5 separate regions of the Homo sapiens genome follow, and regions 1, 2, 3 and 5 are each linked to region 4. The links are contacts of gene promoters, found by promoter capture Hi-C in blood cells and fetal thymus (Javierre and others, 2016). All regions are on one chromosome and are shown on one strand. Each heading gives the region's core, a stretch centred on a gene start or on the middle of the fragment in contact. The rest is flanking DNA. Distances are from core to core; before and after follow the strand shown. Region 1 overlaps MARCHF1 (membrane associated ring-CH-type finger 1). Region 2 overlaps MARCHF1 (membrane associated ring-CH-type finger 1). Region 3 overlaps MARCHF1 (membrane associated ring-CH-type finger 1). Region 4 holds the start of NAF1 (nuclear assembly factor 1 ribonucleoprotein). Region 5 overlaps MARCHF1 (membrane associated ring-CH-type finger 1).

Region 1 (2,827 bases), core at 23-2,522, 500 kb before region 4:
ACAATGTCTTTATTCTAGCATGTTAGGAACTTAAAACATGATTTTTAGATTCAAATCCCCTCCTTACAGAATCTGGCTTGTTCCTAAGTAAGTCTGAGGGCAGCTGAGTTCTCTGTAGGTGGGGCACTGACTGGCTAGGGTGTTGGGGAAATCTCCTCCATTTCTTCAAAGAAAACATTTTAAGTTTCATCTCTTTTATATTTAAGCATTCTTTGTCATGTTTAATTTGGAAAAAGGGGCCTCTCTGCCTTAGAATTTTTTTTGAAAATCATTGATATGAACTGCATACATTATTTTAAAATAGTATCCAGTTACTGTATTTCAAAGTATCTTTTCATTAACTTGATCTTCTGTATACATCTGGGAATGTACTGAGCAATCTGTTCTCAGCAAAATCATTATATATGCTGTGAAAATTACATGTGGGAGTACATTTATTATTTTCTCAGGAAAAGGCAAATAGAGATGGTCTTACACATGTTCTTTGCTTTAAACTTCTTCCTGTTTGTTTCTTAAACATTTTGTCAGGCTTTTACAGCATTGAAAGTGCCTTTAGATTCCATTGCCTATGAAAAATAGGGTAGTGAGAGTACTCGGTTTATTTTTCAGTGTCCAACCTCCAGTTAGACAATGCAAATTCATGTATCACAGCTGATTGCATTTGTCAGCTGTTTGATGTTTTTGGCAGTTTTTTTTTTTTAGCTGCCCCATTTTTTCAAGTACATGAAAGCTTTGACATAACTGTGTTAATAGCTCAAAGTTCTGATAAACAATCTAGTAGTAAGAGGCTAATATTAAAGCCTAAAGATTTTTAGTTTCTATCAATTTTTATATACTTGATTCTCACTTCTGAATATGAGATCATAGATATTAGCATGAGCTTATAGATATTAGTCTATGTTGAAATCAGAAAGTTTCAGACATAGAAGAGATCTGGGGACACAGCATGTTGGAGAGAGCACCGCGCCAGGAGAGACGTGGCCTTAGCCCTGCCACCTATTGCTCACTCTTGGGTTAGTCATTTATCCTCCACAAGCTTCAGCTCCCTTGCCAGTAAAACCCATGATTGCAAAGATGAAAATAAGACAATTAGAGACAAGCAATGTTGCAGACGAGATGATCCAAAATCATTCAGAATATAAAAACATAGAAATGCTAGATAAAAATATAACAAATGTCCTTATTTATACTCAGCTGTGCTAGGAAAAAGAAAAGAAAAATCTCCAGCAGTGAGAAAGGAAGAGAGAAACATAAGCCAGAGAAATTGGCCTGAGAGCTGACAGTGTGGCTGCCCTGGGGGGTGGTCAGTTGTGATCATCTAGTGGCAAGGGTGTCAGTGCCCAGGCAGAAACAGAAGATAAAGCAATGGGCCTGAGTGGGATGTACACTTAAACAGCCCTAAATCTAAAAAAAAAAAAAAAGATGATTTAAAATACTATAGTCTCTGTGTAAGCATCCACTAGGAAAAAATATCCAACTATCCACACAGAGAGATAAAAAGAAGCTTGACTTTTTATTTTGGCCTGAATTCTGTGTATACAAGAAAAAACAAATTCTCTGAGTAATGTAATCACAGACTTATATTACACTCCAGTTAGAAGGTTAAATTTGTATTGTTTGCATGACCTGGGAATCCCCTAGTTAAGAAACATTTTTTTTTTTCCAGGCCAATAATAACCCGTGGCAAACAAACACAATCTCTCTGAAGAAGGGGTGAGGTTACTGTAGTGCAGACAGTCGCATCCTTAGTGGTGATAAGACCTTGACTCCTCTTTCCCATATTTGCCTCGGAATGCCGGCCTTAGCGTGTGCCTTCAAACAAGAGATTGTACGATTTTTTTTTTTCTCAGTGAACTGACAAAACAGAAAGAATAGCTGCAGAATTGAGAAAATTTTCCCAAAAACAATCCGGCCTGAGTACCCTAGAGGGAAAGCCACCACTAGCCGGAGACACACATAGACCTAATCAGCTTTTGAGTGAGTGTGTAATACAACTAATATCCAGAGATCAACAGATATTTGAGGAAAATTTCTATCAGAGACAGAGAGAGATGGTAACAGACGGACTTAGAGCAAGTAGAGACAACTAAAGCCGCAGAGGGCTGAAAGGGAAGATTCTGGGACTAGAAAGGAATGTGCTTGGATATTACAAATATGAGAGCAGAAATAAAAAATAATTTGGAAGTTTGGGGGAAAAAAGGAAAAGAAAACTTCCAGAAAGTATGACAAAAAGAAAACAGAAGAGAAAGAGTTAGAAAATTTAAGAATTAATTCAGGAGTTTAAGCATCCAAATAATAAGAGTTCCAGGATGAGAGAACAAAGAAAACAATACTTGAAATAAGATGAATAAGAAATAAAAACAGTACTAGAAACAATAAGAGTTCCAGGATGAGACAGCAAAGAAAACAATATGTGAAATTTCATTATTTGAAATTATCAAGGAAATAATTAAAGAAAATATCCAAAAACTTAAAGACATAATTTCCAGATATCATGGACCAACTGTGTACCTAGCAAAATGAATGGTGGAAACAAATGCTACATCTTACACATACCAAAAAAGGAAGAAAAAAAAGATTTTATTCCAAGAATCAAGAATCAGGATGGCTCCAAACTTCTCATAACCCTGGAATTGTTTTTTAAAAAGGAGCAATTACTTCACATTTTTGAAATAAAGTTATTTCCAATCCAGAATTCTATATCCAGTCAACCATCAATTGAATGGCATGATAGCATAAAAATATTTTCAAAAATTAAAGTCTGTCCTACGCTATGTAATTAGATTTGTATAAAACTCTAGAAAATCCAAACTAATCTGTAGTATTA
Region 2 (2,775 bases), core at 169-2,668, 430 kb before region 4:
AAGACAGGGTCTCACTGTGTTACCCAGGCGGGTCTCAAACTGAGCTCAAGCAGTCCTTCTGCCTTGGCCTCCCAAAGTGCTGAGTTTACAGGCATGAGCCACTCACTGGCTTATACCATATTTTCTTTCTCTATTGATAAGTTGATGGACATTTAGGTTGTTTCCGTAGCTTCACTCTCAAACTGAGCTCAAGCAGTCCTCCCGCCTTGGCCTCCCAAAGTGCTGAGTTTACAGGCATGAGCCACTCGCTGGCTTATACCATATTTTCTTTCTCTATTGATAAGTTGATGGACATTTAGGTTGTTTCCGTAGCTTCACTCTTGTCAATAATGCTGCAATGAACATGGGAGTTCAGATACCTATCTGAGGTCCTGATTTCAATTCTTCTGGATACTTAGACGTGGGATTGCTCGCTCATATGGTATTTCTATTTTTAATTCTTTGAAAAACCTCCACACTGTTTTCCATAGCAGCTGCACCGTTTTTATTCCTAACAGCGTACAAGGGCTCCAACTTCTTCACATCCTCAGGAGCATTTATCTTGTTTGGGTTTGGGTGTGTGTGTGTGTGTGTGTGTGTGTGTTTGTGTTTTGATAATAGCCATTCTGATGGGTGCGAGGTGACATTTCACTGTGACTCTGATTTGCATTTCCCTGATGATTAGTGATTTTGAACACCTTTCTATATAGCTGTTGACCATTTGTATGTCTTCTTTGGAGAAATGTCTTTTTAGCTCCTTTGCTCATTTTTTAATGTAATCTTAATTTTTTATTTAAATTATGTAGTGGGTTCCTACTCAACTAAATACAATTAAAGTTAGTTTGTGTGTGTGTTTGTGTGTGTGTGTGTATTGGCACTGGTTGAGGGAAATACCAGGCTCTGTGTAATCTTTATTTTTCAGCATGATATCTCCCTACTAAAGTAATTAATTGTATTATTATATCATATAATAATAATGTGGTATTATTGTATATACTAAATAAATATACTAAATATATACTAAATATTGTATTTAGTTGGAGTAAGAACTTTCATGCTCTTTTCATACTTGGCCACATAATGTTACCAAATTACCCAGTCAATCCTACTTCTAAGCATTGACTGAAAACATCTTCTATGCCTAGTATATTCTACCAACATCCTTCTCCATCTGCCATAATTCTACCCCAGCTTCAATTCCAATTCCCATGCCACATCTTCCATTAAACTTTCTACCCTCCCCCGGTCCCCAATCTGAGATGATCTTTCACTCCTTTGCATACAACAGCACTTGACATGGCACACATCCCATTTTAAATGTATCCTGTCTAATTTTGCAGTTGTCTGATGCATAAACTGTCAATATAAACTTCTTAAAGGAAAAAGACTGAGACTAATTCATCTTTATATTTACCATAGGACCTTATAAAACCTTGCATATATACATAAGCAACAAATTACTTGTTGACTGAATGAATGAATGAATGAGTGAATAAATGAATAAAAGTTGATCATTCTTCACTCAATGTGGTTGGAACTGCTGTAAAACATCAGTATTTTGTACTTACTTGCCTTTGTAGAAGAATTCATATGCAAAGGCGTATTTCTAATTCAATGCATTTTTGGTTATCTGTAAATAAAGTGCCTGCTTTGTCAATTATCCATGGCAACTTGAGACTTTCTTTGATGTAATGCTCAGCCAGATAAGATTAATGAGTGGACAAAATTGGAAGGAAGTCATGGTTGAGGATGAGCTTAGAAAAATTCAAACACCTAGCCATCACAAAAAAAAGATCAGAAAATCAGTTTGAATTAAGAATTTCTGCCACATGCAGAAATGAAAAAGGCTAAAAGGTTATAACTGCATAATTTTTCTGATAGCTGTTATTATGTATATACAAAAGCCTTCTCCTGTATCTGACCATATATATTTCTTTGATTATAGCTACATATTAAAGCCAAATGAGTTTTTATTATCTGTCCCTTTGTTTTGCCTTTTTACTTCAATGTATGCAGCTAACAAAAATTTAGCCTAATAACTGTAAGCACATTTGCTTAGAAATATCTCTAGTTTAATTTTGTCAGTCTTACAAATGCACCCAAAAAGACCTCAAAGCTGATATAAAATGAATATTTATGACATATGCAAATGTAGAGAAAATCATAACCTTCGGATATTCGTTCAATATATATTATCTATTTACTTATCCACAAGTCATCAAAATTGTAAGGTAGGATCTGGAAAGATAAATGGCACTGGGGAACTCATTTCCTTTATGCAGAAATACATGGTCCTCTGAGCTAACCAATGAGTATAGAGAGGGCAGTAAAGCGATGGTTAACAGGGAAGGGATTATCCTAAAAGATGCAATCCAGCTTTTGATTTCTCCTGATTTGGAGGATTTGGACAGTCTGAGCTGATCTTAAGATTGCTAGATATACTGACTGGGACTCCTAGGGGCTACACACATCAATAGAGGGAATGGGGGAATCTTAATGTGTTTCAAGAGCCCATGGAGACCTCTCAGATAGTCTTCAAAGAGGCTCCGGCCCACTATGAGACTGAACCACTAGGCTAGATGATAATAGAATCTCAGTGGGAATCCTCAGTCCCAAGCAGAATTTAAAGTCCTAGTATCAATGGCATCGAACCATCTCCAGAGGGGATGAGACACCCAAGAGAAGCAATTCCAATAGAATCTTCCCAATCCATTGCAGAATTCAATGTCTGTGAATTCAAATAAGACTTGGCCTCCTCTGCTTTCATTATTGACCAAGCAAGGTGATCATTATCTT
Region 3 (3,056 bases), core at 532-3,031, 380 kb before region 4:
TTTTTTGTATTTTTAGTAGATGCAGGGTTTCACCACGTTGGCCAGGATGGTCTCAATCTCCTGACCTCGTGATCTGCCCACCTGGGCCTCCCAAAGTGCTGGGATTACAGGCCTGAGCCACCGCTCCAGGCCCCCAGAGCCCTCATTCTTAAACACTTGTTGGATCACAGACAGAATACACCACACAGCTGCACGGTTCATTCCTCAGTGATGGATTCAACGAGGCCTGAGTGTGTCTATAGGGAACTTGATGCCCCAAATGATCCTGTCAAACAGCTAATACTGAAAACCACTTCTAGTTAGAAAAGACTCCCATTACCCAGCAGTTCAGAATGCAAAAGGAGACTCAAACTGAGTGGTAGCAAAATGAAGCCATTGATTTCAGGGTCTTAGATATGCCTCTTTGTGGAACTGTTTATTACCGTTTTTCAGTAAGACTGCCAATTACTTGCAGTGGTATCTTTACCCAAACCTGGGTCTCAGTTAACTACTTCCCCCGATTCTAAACCGCTGCGTGCACACACTGTCTCAAGATGGTAGCTGTTAATTTGCTGTCTATATTTGGGTTGGTGATCTCCCAGGTCCATCTGGACACATGGCCCATTCCTCACTGTTTCCACTTGCAGTTCCTTTGGATTGCAGATCCTAATCTTTGGTGCAGTACAAGACCTTCTTGTACTGTTATCAGGAGAGACAGAGGAGCTGCACTTAATCAGAAAATAGTGTCCCCTCACATTGGGCCATGTACAAAAGATGTCAAATGATTATCACTGGTGGACCTAACGTGGAAGAGAACTAGGGGAGAAAATGTTTTTTTAAGGAAATGATAGACTCACAGAGCATTTATGGCTATTATATCTGAGGTTTTGACTCTTAGTAAGAAAGCCTTCATGTACATGCTTATCTGTAAAGGGACTTATATTAGTCCCTTTTTGCACTGCTCATAAAGACATACCTGAGACTGGGTAATTTATGAAGAAAAAGAGGTTTAATGGACTCATAGTTCCACATGACTGGGGAGGTCTCACAATCATGGCAGACAGTGAAAGGCATGTCTTACACGGCAGCAGGCAAGAGAGAGACCTCATGATCTAAAACCATCAGATCTCGTGAGACTTATTCACTACCACAAGAACAGTATGGGGGAAGCCATCCTGATGATTCAATTATCTCCTACCAGGTCCTTCTCATAACATTTGGGAATTATGGGAGCTACAATTCAACATGAGATTTAGGTGGGGACACAGCCACTATATTACTGTAATTCTGAGAGAACAAGTTTGCACTTGTGTACACTTCCTGATTTGTGTCCAACAGTGAGTGCCTTAACTAGTGAACTTTACCAGCTGCCTACCACCTACCTGGCTTTGTTGTTTCCTCCCTATCATCAGTTTTGTAGCAAATTTCACTAAAGGTCTGCAGAGGTCAAATTTTTCTGCTGGTCTTTTAAAATACATTTTTAAGAGGGAAATTATTTACCATAGGCATACCTCTGAACTTAAAGATTTATTAAGGTTCAAGAGTTACTCCTCATAATTAAGAGTCTGTTGTTTAGTTCTCTCCCAGAGTATTTGAAATTGTTACTAGTATAATTAGATTTTAATAGGCTTTTATGTTACCTAAACACTAATTTGAAAAGTAAAACAAAAAATGAAAGTTTGCTTTAGTGATTAATGAGCTAACTCTGAATCATTTCAGTTCAAATAAATGAATTATGTAATTTTTTTCAGTCGACCTGAAATATTTAAATCACAGCCAGAAAACAAAACTCATTTGTTGATTACCCTTTCCTGGACTACTAATTAGTTCATGACAGGGAGTGACAAGTACTACTTCTGATATAAACTCCACGGAGGTCACCGTGCAACTCTGCTAAGTGTCATCCTTTAGGCAGGTGGTTCTCTAACTGTAGCTTGCATCGGAATCACCTGAGGGCTTGTTAAAGCACATTACAGGGTCCCCATCGCCAGAGTTTCTGATTCCGTGAGTTTGGTGTGGGGCTCAAAATACTGGGTTTCTAACAAGTTTCCTGATTGCTGCTGCATCTGCTACTGGGGAACACTGAGAACCACTGCTTCATATGAATGGGTCCTCTAGAAATTTCTCCAGCATAGCAAGTCCAAGGATTTGTAAAAGGTTTACTTATTATCCTCCAGCACAACATATCTTACTAAGGCATGTAAATAATGTGATAACCTTTACACTTGCTGTTTCAGGTATTATTTTCGCTCGTCTGCAGCAAAATCCAATATGACAGGCAGAGCCAGTAAACAATTAAAATGTGGCTTTGCATTTATGCAAAATGACAGGAAGAACCTGCACACCTGGCCGGCTGGGAGCTCCTGGGTCTGGCGGTACCAAAAAAAAAAAAAAAAAGGGCTACCGTACTAGCTACTGTTTGGGCCTGGCGCCACCTGGTGGTAATTTTTTGGTCTATCATTCTATAGATTGAAAACTCTAGGTCACGTGACTGTTACGGAAGCTGGAAACCATAGGTGAACTGTCAAGAAAAAAGACGAAATGGATTTAATGGATTTGGCAAAGTAGTCCCTACCTCCTGCTTTTTTCTTTTCTTTTCTTTTCTTTTTTTTTTTTTTTTTTTGAGACGGAGTCTCGCTCTGTCGCCGAGGCTGGAGTGCAGTGGCGCGATCTCGGCCCACTGCAATCTCTGCCTCCCGGGTTGAAGCGATTCTCTTGCCTCAGCCTTCCGAGTAGCTGGGACTACAGTCGCCCGCCGCCACGCCTGGATAATTTTTGTATTCTAGTAGAGACGGGGTTTCACCGTGTTGCCCAGGTTGGTGGCGAACTCCTGCGCTCAGGCAATCCGCCCGCCTTGGCCTCCCAAACTGCTGGGATTACAGGCGTGAGCCACTGCGCCCGGCCTGCATTTTTATGTTATACAAATAAACTGCCTTTATTCTTCACTGGTATAAAGATTTAAACAACACTTTTCTGTGGGCAGTACTTTTAAATTTATATTTTAGGACAGAATATAATGCAAGTAATTTGAATTAGAAAACCTGACCCTATCATGCAAAGTTTGATTTAACTTCATC
Region 4 (2,932 bases), core at 425-2,924:
TGGCTGGGGAATAATTCTGGCTCAAACGTCTTCCCTTCTCAAATCTGTACTGCATGTCTTTGCAAGATCATTGTTAATTAAATATTTTATTCGTGAGTTCATGCATTGTTCCATTTTCCAAGTATTTTTGCACACTGAATGTATGACATGCCACTCCCTTATATAAAGCCTTACTTAGTGCTCACATGAACTAAATGAGATAGTATTTTTATCTCCATTTTACAGATAAGGAAATTAGGATTTAGATTAACTGCCCAAAGTCAGTAACACCAAACACAAAATGGTAGAGCTGAGGCCTGAACACAGGTCTTTTTAGTTGAAAACTCTGAGCTCTGCTTAATCATTGTGCTAGTAAGTTCGTATCCCAAGTTTAAAGTCCTTCTTCACTTTGGAGGATTTCCATGAAATAGCCTACCAATCCTACTTCCCATTTCTGCTGCACTTGGATTTTCTATTTCATATTTCAAATATTTTTCTAGTTATCTCCTGTGCATTGCCCTTCTCTACTTCAAGTAGATTGTAAGCTTCTTAAAACCTTACTCTTATTACACTTGCCTTGCATTTCTATGAAGATCTACTGTTGTAGATGACACACTAAATTCTCAGTGAATAATTTATAAAATCTTTAGCACAGTCCTTGGCACATATGCATGTTTAACAAATGGTATCAATGATTATTATTACTACACAGGGACTGATGCCTCAAACTGAAGACCTAATAGGAAACCAGAAAATTCTGATCTCTTCCTCAGTCCTAAGAACTCTGCTTGCTTTCTCCACAATTTAGACTAGTGGTTTCCAACAATAAGTGAGTACATTTCAGTCTCATAGTCTCATCTCTCTACTACGAAACAGTGCTAAGTATGATATAGACATCACCATAACATGAACAACACAGCAAAATTTTGTCCATTACTGCTCTCTTTGAGGGTACTTTGGAGAAAGGAAAATGGAATAGTTGTAGTTACATTTTTGAAAAAATGGTTAATACCCTATCTATCGACAGATGGATCTATTGATGGATAAACTTCATTTAACTTTCATGAAGTTACTAGCGTCTTGTCAAGACTTCCTGGCTCAAGTTTCTGATGTACAGAACTTAGCATTCTTCAGGCACCCCCCTGTTGTATAATCCCTGCTTCATTTTGGCGCTTCAAGCAGAATTGGTTCACATGCAGCAATAGGAAAATCCGACATTCAGGCCTTGAATGGTTCACATGACGCAGTGAAAACGGTCGATTTAGGGCCTCCCTAGTCCTGATTATTTTTTTTTGAGACGGAGTCTCGCTTTCTCGCCAGGCTGGAGTGCAGTGGCGCGGTCTCGGCTCACTCCAACTTCCGCCTGCTGGGTTCAAGCGATTCTCCTGCCTCAGCCTCCCAAGTAGTGGGAATTACAGGCACGCGCCACCATGCCCAGCTAATTTTTGTATTTTTAGTAGAGATGGGGTTTCACCATGTTGGGCAGGCTGGTCTGTGAACTCCTGACCTTGTGATCCGCCCACCTCGGTCTCCCAAAGTGCTGGGATTACGAGCGTGAGCCACGGCGCCCGACCCCCTAATCCTGATTTTCGAAGATATGACGCATGTATCCTGCCCCCGCGAGCGCCGTCGCGCCGTCGCGCCACATACGTCACACGCTCTTCGGAAAGCGTTGCTGCGTAAATGGCGGGGGCGTGTCTTTTGGCTCCTCCGCGTGTAGTTACCTGAGAAACGCGGGAAGTTGGGCCCAGGCAGTGTTGCTGCGGTTGCCTAAGTTGTTTTTCTATTTCTGGAGAGAGCCGTGAGCTTGTCCAGGGGCCCCAATCCTGAGGCCGACCCGGTTTCTGGCGCGGTGCGATGGAGGTAGTGGAGGCCGCCGCCGCTCAGCTGGAAACTCTGAAATTCAATGGCACCGACTTTGGAGTTGGGGAAGGTCCGGCGGCTCCGTCTCCGGGCTCTGCCCCTGTGCCAGGGACACAGCCGCCGCTACAGTCGTTTGAGGGGTCCCCGGACGCTGGGCAGACCGTGGAGGTTAAGCCTGCCGGGGAGCAGCCTCTGCAGCCCGTTCTGAACGCCGTCGCGGCCGGGACCCCGGCGCCGCAGCCACAGCCACCGGCTGAATCGCCGGCCTGCGGAGACTGCGTCACCTCCCCAGGAGCCGCAGAGCCTGCGCGGGCGCCGGACTCCTTGGAGACCTCGGACTCGGATTCGGACTCGGACAGGTCGGGTGCCTAAGGGACCCGGAGCTGTGGGGAGAGGTCTTGTATGACGGGCGGGGGTGGCTGGGGCCTAGGAGCCTAGAGGTTGCTTGTGTGGGCCCTGGAGGGTGGGCAGGTCGTTGGTGCTCCGGGCTCACGTGTTGAAGTATTGGCTCCGACTGCCCCTTATTCGCTGCCTCTCAAAGCAGGTCGCGTTGTGAATCTGAGCTTAGTACTGACTTATTTCCTAAATTTGGTGGCCTGAAGGGTTCTATGTATAGATCGTATCATTTTTTGTTAGACTTTAGAAAACCCGAGGATCTTAGGTTATTTCCGTAACTACTCAGTTTAGGCTGTACTTTTGTGGTTATAGTTGAGTTTTGTGTCAGATCTGATTTTTTTTTATCATCACATCTAGGCTTTGTTTTTTGAACCACATACATTGGGGATCAGGAAAAGTATTATTTTTTGTGTTTCAAAGCTGGCTCTTGATGATTACGTTAATTTATAGAATCCTTGCAGGGAACACGTGTTTATGAAAGTAGCCAAACAGTGTTATTTAGTAGTATCTTATGCTTCTTACGTTTTGTGAGAGCCTTTCCCCCTTGCCCCCACACCTGTCTTTTAAATATGAAATCTCTGGGCTGGAGAGGACTCCAGCATGTGGGATGTTACTAAACCACACTGAACATTGTCTACAAATAGTTGAGTGTGTTGAGTGGGGTACTGAACAGGTTAACAAGATAGACACGTGT
Region 5 (2,887 bases), core at 226-2,725, 360 kb before region 4:
CCTTGAAAATGAATATTATAGAACAGAGTACAGCTCTTAAAAGTTATTAGTATCATTATTATTATAGTTGTTATATAATACTTTAATTAAGAAAGATGAAAACCTTTTTTCTTTCCTAAGTCAGCCCAATGGTGCTATTTTACATATCAACACAGTTGAAAGGAAGTACTGTTATTTTGGGCTGCAGTGTTTCCTCCACATCTAAAGAAAGCCCATTTTGAAACTGGATACTGCATTAAAACAAAGAAGGAAAAATTATTTTAACTGTGTGCAGTTTTTGAAATTAGGCATTTGTACTATTTTGGTTTTACATAATTCTCTTGCATTAACAATTTACTGTTTTGTGAATCATGTGTACTAAAGCAAATTAAGAAAAAGAAAATAATTATCTGTGAAAGACTTTGTATATTAAACAAGTGACGCAAACCTTAGTTGTGGTTTCCACAATTTTTGCCTAACAGACTGATATTTGTATTTGCAACATCCAAACACACATACATTTTTTAAGATTTTACAAGGGTCTGAACATATAATTATTTTAAAGCAAACCTACGTTGACTAACTCATGACATGGTACAAATAAATAAATACACAAACAGAGGGAAACCAATGAAAATAAACTATGTGGACTTTCAAACCTGCTTTAAAAAAAGAGTTCAAGAGAAATCACAATGTAATCTAAAGCGGGACTGTCTCAAGAATAAGTCTTGGATATAGAAAAATAAGCATATAACAGCATTTTTCTGTTCAGAGATAATAGTGGATTCAGATAATTGCATGGATAATAAACATTAAAAGCAAGATATTAGAATCTAAGAGGTTTGGTGATAGCAAAAAACAAAGCTGTTTCCAAATGTCCAACTTCTAAGGACCTACAGGGCTTTCTACCAGTCTGCTAATTATATGAGCCAACTCCTCTGCCCAAAATGGAAATCTGAACTTAACACCCTCCCTCACCACCAGAAATTATAGCAAACATTCCTAGATCATTAATCACTGTCATTATGTGTCCAGTGATCCTAAACTGGGTGCTGTGATAGAGATTAACCAAGAGTAGCAAGGGTGTGGGGGTAGAGATGCTTTAGATAGAGAGAACACTTTTAAGCTCAGACCTAAAGGAAGAGAGAACAATCAGTTATTGTTGGCCTTGCAAAAGCTCAGGGGAATGGCAACGCAGGAAGAGGGAATGGTAAGTACCAAAATCCCGAATGGGAAATGTCAAGCAAAGGCTGATGGATTCGGCCAGTAGAGAAACAGGCCCTTGTAAGACTGTTTTATTACAGTCATCCCCCCAGTATGTGTGGAGGACTGGTCCCAGGACCTCCTTCAGATACCAGAATTCATGGATGCTCAAATCCCTGATATAAAAATGGTGTAGTATTTGCATATAACCTATGTATACCCTCTTGTATACTTAAAATCATTTCTGGATTACTTATAATACCTAATACTATGGAAATAGTTGTTACAATGTATTGTTTAAAGAATAATGACAAGAAACAATTCTGCATGTTCAGTACATACTTTTTTTTTTCGGACTATTTTTCATCTGTGGTTGGTTGGATCCAAGGATGCAGAACCCTTAGATAGGGAGGGTCAACTGTACTTACACAGACAGTAAGATGCAAAGGTGCGGCCTTCCCGTATGTCTTGTCCTACAGAAAGACACAAACAGAAAAGGGCCAGATGAACTGGTAGTGCTACATAAGGGGAAGGACACTCTGTTGCTGAGATGCTGAGTCCATGCTGCAGCTAAGTATTATATTAGATTGGTGCAAAAGTAATTGCGGTTTTTGCCATTAAAAGTACTTTTAAAAAAAAAAATGACAAAAACTGCAATTACTTTTGCACCAATCTTGAGTCATTAGTTTTATAGGCTGCAGCTCTATGCTACAGTGACTCGAGGTAGAGTCTCAGAGTTCATCAGAACCCAGGTGATGACAAATTGTCTCACTATCTCCTTCCCAGAAGATCAGGAGGCAAATGATATCCTCCATATCCCCATGCTCTGGGAAGATTATAGGACAGTCTTCCAAGGCTCAGTCAGGTCATCCGCAGCAAAACCCTGCCCAGCTGTGGATCAAGTGGACACACACAAGGCCATCAGGGTGCTGGCAACAGGAGCAAGAACAGTGGCAAGAAGGCCAGTTAAGAAGCTACTGCACATAGGACAGGCAAGACATGGCGACTTTGGTAAGGATGAAAAGTGAGACTGCCTGACACGGGCCAATTTGATTTTCATTTTGGAAGTGGAATCAGAAATACTCGCTAATTAAATTATATTGTGGGAAGGCATAGAAGAGAGAAAGTGAAAAATCAAGGATGATTTTACAGGCAGATTCCTGGCTTGAGAAATTGCGTGAAAAACTTAGAAAAATCAGGTTTCTGAGAAAATAAGGAGTGGGAAACAGAACATAAGTAGTATTTTCCTTTGAAAGGAAAAAAAAAGATATATCCATTAAATCAAAAGAAAGTGGTAATTTGTATTTTCTCAAAGATGTATAAAAAGCCAAGGGCTGAACATTGAGAAGGCTAGTATTCAAGTCAAGCTAGAAAAAAATATAAAAAAGTAGTAAAATAATTATCTCAAAGTTAGAAAATGAACTTAGTAGGGGAACATAATAAGATCACTAAGCAGTACTGAGAATCCACTTGAGATTTGCAAACATCAGTATGAAAATGGTCTGTTTGATATTCTCCAGCGATGTTGAGCTGCGTGAGAACAGGCATGAAGGAAACATAGCTGTTACTTGGTTTGGGTTCTGAAAGAGAAATAACTAGAGTCAGAGACAAGGAATTCAGGGTATATGCAAGGAAGCAACTATGAACTTGAAGCTAAGCTCAACAAGACAGATGATGCGTAATGAGAGTGAGGTCAAAGTGCAGA

Evidence for each region. Contacts are between HindIII fragments. The CHiCAGO score rates a contact against its expected background, and 5 or more counts as called.
Region 1: a fragment that was not itself captured here is called in contact with the fragment with the promoter of NAF1 in region 4 in 1 of 17 cell types (total B cells); the score reaches 5.9 in total B cells.
Region 2: a fragment that was not itself captured here is called in contact with the fragment with the promoter of NAF1 in region 4 in 1 of 17 cell types (naive B cells); the score reaches 5.4 in naive B cells.
Region 3: a fragment that was not itself captured here is called in contact with the fragment with the promoter of NAF1 in region 4 in 2 of 17 cell types (fetal thymus and non-activated CD4 T cells); the score reaches 6.2 in fetal thymus.
Region 5: a contact is called between a fragment that was not itself captured here and the fragment with the promoter of NAF1 in region 4, in 1 of 17 cell types (fetal thymus). The highest score is 5.6, in fetal thymus.

What each region holds. Positions count from the first base shown.
Region 1 is chr4:163,661,817-163,664,643 of GRCh38, reverse strand. All of the region lies in intron 5 of MARCHF1 (membrane associated ring-CH-type finger 1), which reads left to right. Among named protein-coding and RNA genes, the nearest start is that of TMA16, 170 kb to the right of the region's middle. RefSeq lists an enhancer at 346-425 and a silencer at 1,036-1,085. The HindIII fragment of the contact is 468 bases long and covers 1,039-1,506 here.
Region 2 is chr4:163,592,568-163,595,342 of GRCh38, reverse strand. The region is part of intron 7 of MARCHF1 (membrane associated ring-CH-type finger 1); the gene reads left to right. Among named protein-coding and RNA genes, the nearest start is that of TMA16, 99 kb to the right of the region's middle. The HindIII fragment of the contact is 4,571 bases long and covers 1-2,775 here.
Region 3 is chr4:163,549,828-163,552,883 of GRCh38, reverse strand. All of the region lies in intron 8 of MARCHF1 (membrane associated ring-CH-type finger 1), which reads left to right. Among named protein-coding and RNA genes, the nearest start is that of TMA16, 57 kb to the right of the region's middle. RefSeq lists enhancers at 2,230-2,729, 2,730-3,056. The HindIII fragment of the contact is 8,219 bases long and covers 1-3,056 here.
Region 4 is chr4:163,165,632-163,168,563 of GRCh38, reverse strand. NAF1 (nuclear assembly factor 1 ribonucleoprotein) reads left to right here and starts at 1,674. Exons shown (of 8, transcript NM_138386.3): 1 at 1,674-2,201. The coding sequence starts at 1,837. RefSeq lists enhancers at 1,721-1,920, 1,941-2,060, 2,091-2,170, 1,662-2,529. The HindIII fragment of the contact is 3,845 bases long and covers 527-2,932 here.
Region 5 is chr4:163,522,262-163,525,148 of GRCh38, reverse strand. It overlaps MARCHF1 (membrane associated ring-CH-type finger 1), which reads left to right. Exons shown (of 10, transcript NM_001394959.1): 10 at 1-431. Among named protein-coding and RNA genes, the nearest start is that of TMA16, 29 kb to the right of the region's middle. The HindIII fragment of the contact is 3,665 bases long and covers 1-2,887 here.